2 separate regions of the Homo sapiens genome follow, and region 2 is linked to region 1. The links are contacts of gene promoters, found by promoter capture Hi-C in human tissues and cell types (Jung and others, 2019). All regions are on one chromosome and are shown on one strand. The core of a region is centred on a gene start or on the middle of the fragment in contact, and the rest is flanking DNA. Distances in the headings are between cores, read along the strand shown. Region 1 overlaps SLC12A9-AS1 (SLC12A9 antisense RNA 1). Region 2 holds the start of AGFG2 (ArfGAP with FG repeats 2).

What was found. Contacts are between HindIII fragments. The study calls those that stand out against the background at their distance.
Region 2: a contact is called between the fragment with the promoter of AGFG2 here and a fragment that was not itself captured in region 1, in 1 of the 25 tissues and cell types used here (spleen).

Annotation. Positions count from the first base shown.
Region 1 is chr7:100,838,178-100,844,154 of GRCh38, reverse strand. All of the region lies in intron 1 of SLC12A9-AS1 (SLC12A9 antisense RNA 1), which reads left to right. It also overlaps a transcript of SLC12A9 not described here. Among named protein-coding and RNA genes, the nearest start is that of SLC12A9-AS1, 11 kb to the left of the region's middle. The HindIII fragment of the contact is 3,742 bases long and covers 612-4,353 here.
Region 2 is chr7:100,536,778-100,542,754 of GRCh38, reverse strand. It overlaps AGFG2 (ArfGAP with FG repeats 2), which reads right to left and starts at 3,552. Exons shown (of 12, transcript NM_006076.5): 1 at 3,188-3,552. The coding sequence starts at 3,408. RefSeq lists silencers at 548-637, 3,192-3,491, 3,542-3,821 and an enhancer at 3,701-4,202. The HindIII fragment of the contact is 17,077 bases long and covers 1-5,977 here.

The DNA of each region.
Region 1 (5,977 bases), core at 1,233-3,732:
ACTGGGAACAGTCCTCAGTCTGAGGAAGGTCAGTTGAAGTCCTTACTGTAAAATTCCAAATTTTAAGGCAAATGAGTCCTGCGATGAGTTTTCTCATGCTTCGGCCATGCGTGGACCAGTCAGCTTCCGGGTGTGACTGGAGCAGGGCTTGTCATCTTCTTCAGAGTCACTTTGCAGGGGCTGGCGAAGCTGCTTCCGTCCACATACTGCTCACAGTCTACTGATGTTTAAGGATGGTTTCGGAGGTTGGGCCTGCTAGGATAAACTGAGTCTAACACCCCTATACAGTTATGTTCAACTGGGCTTTCTGATACTGGCAGCAAGGTGGTGGGGTTTAGGGTGTTGCAAACTTCAATGGTTATGTGGGGATTTTCACATAGCAAGCTTTGGTACTTGGTTAATCTAGCATTTGTAACCAATGAGGTCCTTTGGTAGTCATTCAAGTTACCACAGCATGGGGGGACTTTATATTCAGGTTTTGCCTAAGGGTTAGTTTATCTGCTTCTTGTGCTAACAGGGCCATTGCTGCTAGGGCCCTTAAACCTGGGGGCCAGCCTTTGGAAACCTTGTCTAGTTGTTTTGAGAGATAGGCCACTGGCCTTGCCCAGGGCCCTACAGTCTGGGTTAAAACTCTAACTGCCTTTTTTTCTCTTTCTGACACGTAGGGTGTAAAGGGTTCAGGTAGCCTCAGGGCTGGGGCCGACATGAGTTTTTCTTTTAACTCATGAAAAGCTCATTGCTGTTGGTTGTAATAGATGTAGTTTATCTAATCTACATTTTTATTAACTGTCACTCACCAAAATATTGACTCAAATCCTGCAGCTATTTGATTTCAAGCTTTAAATTGATCTGGTATTCCTCATGGGACTCCAATTGCGTCTAAATAGACATGAGAGTCAAAAGACCCATAAGGGGCTTCTCTCGCTTTACAATGTCTTATTTTTTCTCCCTCTGGTTGATGAAATGCCAGGGTGAAAGGGATAGCCAATTGGACTAAAGTACAAGTGCCACTCCAGTTATTCGGCAGAGTGCCTAGTAAAGGTCCACCAAAATACCACCACACATCCGCTCAGGGATGAACAAGGGCTGACTGATTAATAAGCTCTTGAAAATTCTTAAGCTCATCGCATCCCTTCAGGTCTCCAAGGAATGCTAAGTTTCCTCCCTGTAGTGAGAGATACGAAGTGAACTTAGTGTTGGGAGACGGAAGCTGGATGGCCCTCAGGGGCTGACCCGCAGGGTGCCAGACTTAGGGATACAGCAGAGAGAGCTTGGCATGACTTATTACTCCAGGCTGTAGAATCCTGGAAAAGAGCTACCATGCAACCTACACCTGGTCGACTGGAGGACCACCTTAGTGGAAGGGGGACAGTCTGGGCCTCTGGCCTGCCATGTGCACAAGCATAACAATTGCTTTTGTTTAATGTGCAGATGGAATATTTGATCCATTTTAACTAGGCATTTGCATGTTGGTATCCTGTCTTAATTGCTAAAATTTGTTTTAAGTCTTTAACTTCTATGATCCTCTAGTAAAATTAATGTATGATTTTAGGAAATTATAAAAACCGGTTGGGGCAGTCCATCTTTGCTCTTTAATGGTCCACAGAACATTGGACCAACTATGGCATGAAAGCTCTACGTCGGGGGCAAGACTCTTCGTTGGCACTGGGGTCTTTATCGAAATCTCCCTGGATTAAATGGTCCTAGTTTACTAATGCCCAGTCTGAGGAGAGTCAGGAGAGACAGAAGTGCTTTTCTGAAGTAGAGAGCTGTCTTTGACTTGGCAAGTCCTCACAGGGTATAACAAAGCAATCATTAAATGCAATAGTTTGAGGAGAAATTGACTTGGTTATGTTAATAACTAGATGGTCAGCAATAGAATGAGGAAAGAAGAAAGAGTAATAGAATAGATGAAAAGAGTTAAGTTTTTCTTAGCTTTAGTTTGATAGGGTTTTCCTTTGGGACTATGGCCTACAACTCTGGAGGGGGTGGCACTTTCTTGACTCGGATGTGATGAGTCCATTCTTTTTTTTTTTTTCTGTACGAACAGCAGTCTTGGTGGTTAGCAGCACAAGGCAGGGTCCTTCCCAGGCTGGCTTGAGTTTTTCTTCCACAGTTTGATGAGAATATGATCTTCAGGCTGGTGCTGGTTTACCGGAAATTCTAGGGGTGGTACATGTGCTAAAAGACTTTTAGTTTTTGAGAGAAAGGAAAGTGGAAGGTAAACCAAGTATATGATTTTTAAGAAAATGTCTTTTTGTTTTAAATGTGGGGACCTTGGCCGTGGACTTTATAGTCCTTAGTGCCTTTTTACTGAGAAATTTCCTTTAGCACCTATTTTTATTAGTTTTTAAACTAAAGAAAGCCAAATTTTTTTTACATTTAACAATGCTTCTCGTATGATTTTCATACCAGATAAGCTAAATTTTATCTTTATATTCGTGTGTTATGAATGTTAAACCTAATTTTAATAAAACTTTATAGACATATTTATCTAATTTTTAATGTTTGACCATAAGGTAAGATTTTATAGACTCTTTTTAACTTTTTATAATTTTTGCTAAAGAGCAGGTTGGTGCTTTAAGAAAAACCTGTTATGCTTTTACTTTAATGTCCAGTTCACAGAAAAACTGGATGATACTTCTTTAACTTTAGCTAATATGTTTACATACAGAATTTTCTTTACAATTAACATTTTAAAACTTGCTTAAACTTTTAAAACAATAATTTGTTTTAACTTTTTAACATAGGTAAAAATGTACATTCTTATGCCTCCTTACCAAAGGTATATTTTACTTTTCTTATACACCTTGCACATAAACTGGTTTGTTTTTTTTTTTAAATAGTTTTACATTCAGGAGGCCTAGTTACTTTTAAATTATACTACATTTTTGCATAAATTCTTTTTTATAACTTTTTTTCTTTCATGGTTTTCGCAGACAATTCTTCGATATTCTTCAACTTTTTGACTTATTACAAATATTTCTTTCTTTAAACCAGTTAATTTATTTCAGGACAACAATTTACTATATAATACTCTTTTTATATAAATTCCACCCCCTAAGGAAAAAAAATTCTTTTTTCCTTAGGATACTTCTGAACTGGTGAGGTGTGCTCACAATGAGGTTTCCTCTAAAAGTTTTTTTTTTTTACTTTTTTTTTGTTGTTAGCAAAGCAGTTGCCGCTACAGACTGAATGCATTTGGGCCATCCGCGGGTCACTGGGTTAAGGATTTTTGATAGGAAGGCCTCAGTGCTTTCGGATACGGCTTTGTTTACACTGACAACAAAGTGGTATTGGAGTGTTACAGGGTTACGGAGAATACCTTCAATTATCAATTATAGGTTTTAAATTTACCTTGGCTTTTAAAGGAATAGGGTACACCTTTTTTTTTTCTTAACTGCTTGTATATCTCTCTTTCTTTCTTTCTTTGACTTTGTCTCTCTTTGACTTTCTTTTTGCCTCTGTCTCTTCTCTCTCTCTGCATTTCTTTCTCTCTGTCTTTCTCTCTCTCCTTGACTCCCTCTCTGTCTGTCTTTTCCTCTCTGTCTCTTCCTCTCTGTCTCTTTCCTTTCTCTCTTTCTGCTGGTCTTTCTTTGCCTCTGCCAGCCACTTATGCTGCTGTTCTCAACCGCTGTGTGTTGGGGGCGGGGGGTCTAAAACTAGCTGTAACCAAGTGTCTATGTACGGGAACTGGTCTGGGTTCCCTGGCTTACAGGTTACTTTGTGCCATACCTTTGAAACAAGGGACCTGTCCAGGCTTTTTTCTAATGGCCAACCTACCTCTAATGCTGGCCAGTCTATCTTACACAAAGTTTTAAGTTTTCCTCGTGTCATAGTACTCTATAGTCTCCTTTAAATTCTTTTTTGAAATTTTTCAACATAGTTCCTAGCAGGGTGGGCTTATTTGTGCCTGACCTATGCTTCTTCGACACAAAACACCACACTCACACCACACGCACACCACAAAACAAAGAACAGGTAAAAAGGGCACACACACACTTTCGCAGTTTGCACCAAACTAAAATCAAAACTAAAATCAGAGTATCTAGAAATCTAAGTTAGGTCAAAACCAAAACCAGAGTATTAAGCAATCTAAGTCAAGTCAAAAACAAAAACTAAAGTGCCGGTACAGGCACACCATGGGTGATCAGGCCACGCTTCCACTTAAATGCAGTGGGCAAGTTTCTTTTTTTTTTTTTTTTGAGACGGAGTCTCGCTCTGGTGGGGACTACAGGCACCCACCACCACGCCCAGCTAATTTTTTTGTATTTTTAGTAGAGAAGGGGTTTCACCGTGTTAGCCAGGATGGTCTCGATCTCCTGACCTCGTCATCCGCCCGCCTTGGCCTCCCAAAGTGCTGGGATTACAGGCCTGAGGCACCACACCTGGCCTGGAGTGGGCAAGTTTCAAAGACTAGTCTTACCAAGTTTTAGATGTCCAGACTCTAAGTGCCCGTTCCTTCCTGGTGTTCAGCCACTGTGTTGATCCTCCACAGGGGCCTGCCACACACTGCTCTGGCGAAGCGTCCTCCTGGGGCAAATGCCTACCAGGGAGCACTCTCAGGATCCGCGTCGCCCGGGCTAGTTAGAGTCGCCCGCAGGGATGTTCCACACGGCAGGCTTAAGCCGCCTAAGGAGCTGCCTCGACCATCCGCCATTCACCTCGCTTCCCCATCAGGGAACCAAGAAATGTAGCAGGACGAGGCGCAGAAAACTCCTCAGACACTGAGTTAAAGAAGGAAGGGGTTTATTCGGCCAGGGGCATCAGCAAGACTCCTGTCTCAAGAGCCGAGCTCCCTGAGTGAGCAATTCCTGTCTTTTTTTTTTTTGAGACGGAGTCTCACTCTGTCGCCCAGGCTGGAGTGCAGTGGCGTGATCTCGGCTCACTGCAGCTCTGCCTCCTGGGTTCACGCCATTCTCCTGCCTCAGCCTCCTGAGTAGCTGGGACTACAGGCGCCCGCCACCATGCCCAGCTAATTTTTTTGTATTTTTTAGTAGAGACAGGGTTTCACCGTGTTAGCCAGGATGGTCTCGATCTCCTGACCTCGTGATCCACCCGCCTCGGCCTCCCAAAGCGCTGGGATTACAGGTGTGAGCCACCGCGCCCGGCAATTCCTGTCTTTTTTTAAGGGCTCACAACTCTAAGGGGGTGCATGTGAGAGGGTCGTGATTGATTGAGCAAGCAGGGGTATGTGACTGGGGGCTGCATGCACCGGTAATTAGATCGGAACAAAACAGGATAAGCATTTTCACAGTGCCTTTCTATACAATGTCTGTAATTTACAGATAACATGGCTGATTAGGTCAGAGGTCGATCTTCAACTACTAGGCCTAAGTTATGGCACCGGGCTGTCTGCTTGTAGATTTTATTTCTGCCTTTTAGTTTTTACTTTTTCTTTCTTTAGAGGCAGAAATTAGGCATAAGACAATATGAAAGGTAGTCTCCTCCTTTACTAAAAATGCAAAAAAATTAGCCGGCGTGGTGCTACACACCTGTAATCCTAGGTACTGGGGAGGGTGAAGTGGGCAGATCGCTTGAGCCCCAGAGGCCAGGTCGCAGTGAGCCAAGATCGCGTCACTGTACACCAGCCTTGGTGACAGAGTGAGACTCTGTCTCAAAATAAATAAATAAATAATAGTATCTCCTCTGCTCAGAAGTGTCTCAGAATGCTAGGCATGGTGGCCCATGCCTGTAATGTGGCCTCTCCATCACCACATCTCTCTTCTCACCTCCTGCGCGTGCCCCACTAGGGCCTCTGGGCTGTTCCTCAGACAACTCCAGAACCTCTTTTAGGTCTTCTGGACTCAAATATTATCTTCCTAGTGAAATCTTCCCTGCGAATCCCATTTAAAATTGAACCACATGGCTGGGTGCTATACTCCCAATGCTTTGGAAGGTGGAGGCAGGAGGATCACTTGAGCCCAGGAGTGTGAGACCAGCCTGGGCAACATAGCAAGACTGTCTCCACAAAAAA
Region 2 (5,977 bases), core at 2,303-4,802, 300 kb after region 1:
ATGGGGATTTAAGATGCTAATTGGTCTCCGTGCCACCATGGAGCCATGCCTCCAGAAATAAGCATCCCCTGCCTCACATTCTGCCTTACAGCCCACCTGCCAGCTCCCACTCCTTCCCACAGCATATCAAAGGGACACAGGTAATACTGTGTTAAGACCCCTTTACAAGGATTATATGCCTTGCCCTTGTCATGCTAATTATAGGGAAACTCCAGCTTTCTTGCAGAGTTTCTCCTGAAATTTCTCACTCTCAACATACCTTCAATTCAGCTTCATTTACTGGCCTAACCTCTTGATCTTTCATTTCACTCTCATTTCCTACTAACAAAGGGTTGGTCTAGCTTCTCATTTCCCAAACACCAAAATATGCTCTCTAAATCCTCCTCTGTGAGAATCACTCCCTGGTTTAGTCTCATAATGCTTTACCAAAAAGCTAAGCAGGCTGGGTGCCGTGGCTCACGCCTGTAATCCCAGCACTTTGGGAGGCGAGGCGGGCGGATCACTTGAGATCAGGAGTTCGAGACCAGCCTGACCAACATGGCAAAACCCCGTCTCTACTAAAAATACAAACATTAGCCAGATGTGGTAGCGCGTGCCTGTAGTCTCAGCTACTCAGGAGGCTGAGGCAAGAGAATTGCTTAAACCCAGGAGGCAGGGGTTGCAATGAGCCGAGATCGCGCCATTGCACTCCAGCCTAAGCAACAGAGTGAGACTCCATCTCAAAAAAAGAAAAAAGAAACCAGGTTTTTAACGTGTCCCAGATACCTTAGCTTTCTTTGTGTCCTGATTGAGGGGTATTATAAGGGAAATGTTATCTGTGGGACACTTTAACAAAGATCTACAAAATAATGATAACAATGTCAGCACTTCCCAGTTACTCAATTTTATCCATCAGTTTCATCCTTCTGCTTCTCATAGCAGGATCTTCAGGAATCAGCTCTTTCTCTTTCTACTTTACCCTATACATACTCCTTTTTTTTTTTTTTTTGTGAGACAGAGTCTCGCTCTGCGACCCAGACTGGAGAGTGCAGTGGTGCGATCTCGGCTCATTGCAACCTCCACCTCTTGGGTTCAAGCAATTCTCTTGCCTCAGCCTCCTAAGTAGCTGGGATTACAGGCACCTGCCACCATGCCTGGCTAATTTTTGTATTTTTAGTAAGAGATGAGATTTCGCCATGTTGGCCAGGCTGGTCTCGAAACTCCTGACCTCAAGTGATCTGCTCACCTTGGCCTCCTATACATACTGAGCCACCGAGCCCGACCCCTATACATACTCCTAAACGTTGCTCAATCTCTCCCCAGAGTTCTTCACCCACTCTCGAGTCTCTATCCTCTTGCTTCATTTCAGTCCATCTCAGTTTATGACACATTACTGTTTGGGTTCTCAATCATTATCCCAAGAGCCACGATGACTTTTACTTAGACCAAAGTCAAGTTCATCCTTACAACCCACAAGTGAGGTTGATCAGAACCCAGAGAGAAGTTTAGCAAAGGAGGTTAAAACGAAGTAAATAATTCCAAACGGTATCTTGAGAAAACTAAATCCTCATTGCTGGTCTGCCATGATCATCACTAATATCAAACAACAAATGTTGGAAACCGCAATGCCCATATGGCACTGGATAAGTTACGAAACCTCTCTTTGCTTCTGTTCTCCCATCTGTCTTGCAAGAACAATAGTGCTCGCTCCCTGGCTCCTAAAGGTATCAAGACAGGGAAAGCTTTTTTTTTTTTTTTTTTTTTTGAGACAGTGTCTTGCTCTGTCGCCAGGCTGAAGTGCAGTGGCGCAATCTCAGCTCACTGCAACCTCCACCTCCCGGGTTCAAGTGATTCTCCTGCCTCAGCCTCCCAAGTAGCTGGGAGTACAGGTGCGCGCCACCACACCCAGGTAATTTTTGTATTTTTAGTAGAGATGGGGTTTCACCATGTTGGCCAGGATGGTCTCGATCTCTTGACCTCATGATCTGCCTGCCTCGGCCTCCCAAAGTGCTAGGATTACAGGCGTGAGCCACAGCGCCTGGCTGGAAAGCATTTTTTAAAAAACAAAACAAAAACAACAGTGTCTTAAAATAAGACTAAAAAATTGTCAAAATAAATCCCTTGACAAACTTATTAAAAAACAGAGATCCAGGCCTGATATCAGATGTTAATCATGCATCTAACCAAATAATATCTTAATTTGGGAGTAGGAGGAGTGCAGAGGGGAGTGGAGGGGGCTTTACTATATAACCAGAAATCTAGGCTAGAATTGTGGCTGTAAATTCACTCTGGCATGACCGAACAGTACCAATGCCAAGAGTAGCACTCAGATGATGCACCAAAGCCCCCCCAAAATCTAGAGTTTCCTGGATGCTACCACCAGGATCCAGTCATGGCAACAGGGATCTTAAAGGTGTAAATGATTAACCTTCAGGATGGCTCACCTAGACGTGCAAACGTTTGAAAAAGCTAAGCTCTCTACCAGGGTAACCCATTGGCTCTCATCTCTTAGATTTCGTAAGAGTTTTACCTTCTGGGTAACATTTCAAAGCCCTGCTAAGATTAGTATCTACACCTGAACTCTGGACCATGGCTCCCTTCCAGCCACTATCTCTAGGCTGTCAATCGGGGTTAATTCGCTTTTTTTTTTTTTTTTAATCCTGTACTCTAATCATAGGAATTTCAACCAAGTTTCAGCTGGCTTCTGCATCTCACACTCCAGCAGGGACACAAGCCCGAAGGAAGAAAGGTGCCCGTCCATCTCCAGGCCGGCTTTCCCCACCTTTTTCCTTTTTGCTTTCCACCTGCATGAAGTTCCCTCTAAAGGTGCATGTCATTTTCTGGCCCTTTAAGTCCCGACACCCCATCCCACTCCGAGTTCCCTTCCATCCTCCGCACTTTCTCCCTCCCCACTTGCAGTTTGCCTCGACCCCCTCGGGGAGTTTCTCGGTCCCTCTCCGGGCGTCTTTCTGCACCCGTACCCTTCTCTCCGCAGAGCGACTCCGGCCTTGCTTCCTCTCCCCTGCCCTTTCCCCTCCCCACCACACCGCTGCAGCAGACGACCCCGTCCCCACAGCCGGCGCGTTCCCTGACCTCCCCTCCGCCCCTCACCTCGGCCCCCTTCCCTCGCGCCCCGGAGCCCCGGCCTCCCCACCCCGCCCCCGGGTCCCCCCACGCCGACCTCGGCCACTCCCTCCCGGTCACTCACAGGAGGCCGGAGCAGGTGGTGCACACGAAGCTGCCCACGGTGATATCCACGTAGGTGACCCCGCGCTGGGCGCACTCGAAGCAGTGGCGGTTCCCGGCCTGGCTGCAGCCACCCAGCTCCCGCACCCGACGGCACCACACCTCCGAGGCCGCCTCCGCCTCCGCCTTGCCCCCGCTGACCCCGCCGCCCGGGCCCGGGCCCTTCTTCGCCGCCATCACCATCGCTGCCCACTCCCTCCCCGCTAGTCAGCAATCACCCCTTCAACCACTGCCGCCTTCCCGCCTCCTCAGCCGCCTCCGCACGCCCGGCTCCCCTGACAGAAGCTCGGGAGCGGGCGGCATCCGCAGGAGACTTCGCCGTCCACCACCCTCCTTGCCCGTCCTGCACACTGATTGGCTAGGTTTCTCCCACCTCCTTACTCCGATTGGCCCTCCCTGGGACGGCCTCCGGTTGCTGGAGCCGCCAATGCCCCGCCCCACCGCCTTCAGGCCTCAGGCCTCTCCTATTGGCCGGCAGAGACCCCAGCAGCGAGAACCGTGCGTGCCCTCTCCTTGTCCCCGCCCCCTCTCGCCGCTGCCTCCACCGTGGCCCGCCTCCTAGTTCCGATTGGTGAGTCCTCGGCACTCGGGCTCCGACGCTAATTTTGATTGGCTGGCGGGGCTGCAAAGTTAGCGCGCGAGACAGAGGAGGTGCCCCGCGCGTGCGTAGCTGTCGTCCTCCCGACTGATGACGTTAATTCCCGGCAAATTTCAAAGGCTTACTCTAGACTGTGTAGAGTGTCATGCAAAGCCGAAGAGAAGTGGCCATGTGAGGGGCTGAGCAGGAGGGGGAAAGAAGAGAGCGCTTAAGGGAGAGAGGGAGAGGGAGCAAGAGTGCTTTACTAGACCAGTGCTCTAATTCCTGAGCCACAGAGCGAAGGGAGTGCTTTATAAATGTCATTTCATTCGCTCCGCCTATCCCAGAGGTGGAATCCCCATTTTACACCCTTAGGTTCAACAACTTGCGGCAGATCACACGAGTGCGTGGCCCAGGATTCCACTCTGGGTCTTCCAACTTTAGAAACCCTGCCTTTAACCCTCCTAGTAGGTGGACTATTATTCGATTATTCATTTAACAAACACTGAGTGTCTGCTAGGTTTCAGGCACGTTCTAGACACTGGGAATAGAATACAGCAGCGAAGCAATCAAACAAAATATTCTTATAGAGCTTAGTTTCTAGTAGGGGGAAGCAAACAATACACAAATTAAAGAATCACCAGTTAGTAATAAATCCTACGCAGAGAATTAAAATCACATCTTGGAAAAGACTTTTTGGGTACTTTTTTAATTTTTTAATTTAATTTTAATTTTTTGAGATGGAGTCTCACTCTGTTGCCCAGACTGGAGTGCAGTGGCACGATGTCAGCTCACTGCAACCTCTGCCTCCTGGGTTTAAGCAATTCTCATGCCTCAGTCTCCTGAGTAGCTGGGATTACAGGCGGCCACCACCACCCCCAGATAATTTTTGTATTTTTATTATTATGATTATTATTATTTGAGATGGAGTCTCGCTCTGTCGCCCAGGCTGGAGTGCAGTGGCACGATCTCGGCTCACTGCAAGCTTCGCCTTCTGGGTTCACGCCATTCTCCTGCCTCAGCCTCCCGAGTAGCTGGGACTACAGGCACCCGCCACCACGCCTGGCTAATTTTTTTGTATTTTCAGTGGAGACGGGGTTTCACCGTGTTAGCAAGGATGGTCTCGATCTTCTGACCTCGTGATCCGCCGGTCTTGGCCTCCCAAAGTGCTGGGATTACAGGCGTGAGCCACCGCGCCCGGCCAATTTTTGTATTTTTAGTAGAGACAGGATTTCACCATGTTGGCCAGGCTGGTCTCAAACTCATGGCCTCAAGTGAGCCTCCCGCCTTGGCGTCCCAAAGTGCTGGGATTACAAGCATGAGCCACAATGCCTGGCCACCTGTTGGGTACTTCAGATTGGGTTGGTCACCATTTTTAAAACAATTACTTTTTTTTTGAGACAGGGTCTCGCTTTATCACCCAGGCTGGAGTGCAGTGACACAATCATGGCTCACTGCAGCCTCAACCTTCTGGACTCAAGTGATCCTTCCACCTCAGCCTTCCAAGTAGCTGGGAGTACAGCTGTGCACCACCATGCCTGGCGAATTTTTAAAAATTTTTTGTAGAGATTGGGTCTCACTATATTGCCCAGGCTGGTCTGGACCTCCTGGGCTCAAGTGATCCGCCCACCTCAGCCTCCATCTCCCAGGTTCAAGCGATTCTCCTGCCTCAGCCTCCCAAGTAGTTGGGATTACAGGTGCGTGCCACCATGTCCAGCTAATTTTTGTATTTTTAGTAGAGATGGGGTTTCACCATATTGGCCAGGCTGGTCTTGAAGTCCTGACTTCAAATGATCCACCCACCTTGGCCTCCCAAAGTGCTAGGATTACAGACGTGAGTCACCGCACCCGGCCTCTTTTTGTTTTGTTTTGTTTTTTTTGTTTTTTTTTTTTTTTTTGAGACAAGGTCTTGCTCTGCTGCCCAGGTTGGAGGGCAGTGGCACAATCATACCTCACTGCAGCCTCAACCTCCCCAGTTCAAGTGATCCTCCCACCTCAGTCTCCAGGGTAGCTGAGACTACAGGCGCACACCACCATGCCTGGCTAATTTTTGATTTTTTGTAGAGAAGGGGTCTCACTATGTTGTCCAGGCTGGTGGCTGGCAGCCTGCTTTCTCTCTCTCTCTCTTGTTTTTTTCTTTTTGAGACAGGGTCTTACTCTGTCACCCAGGCTGGA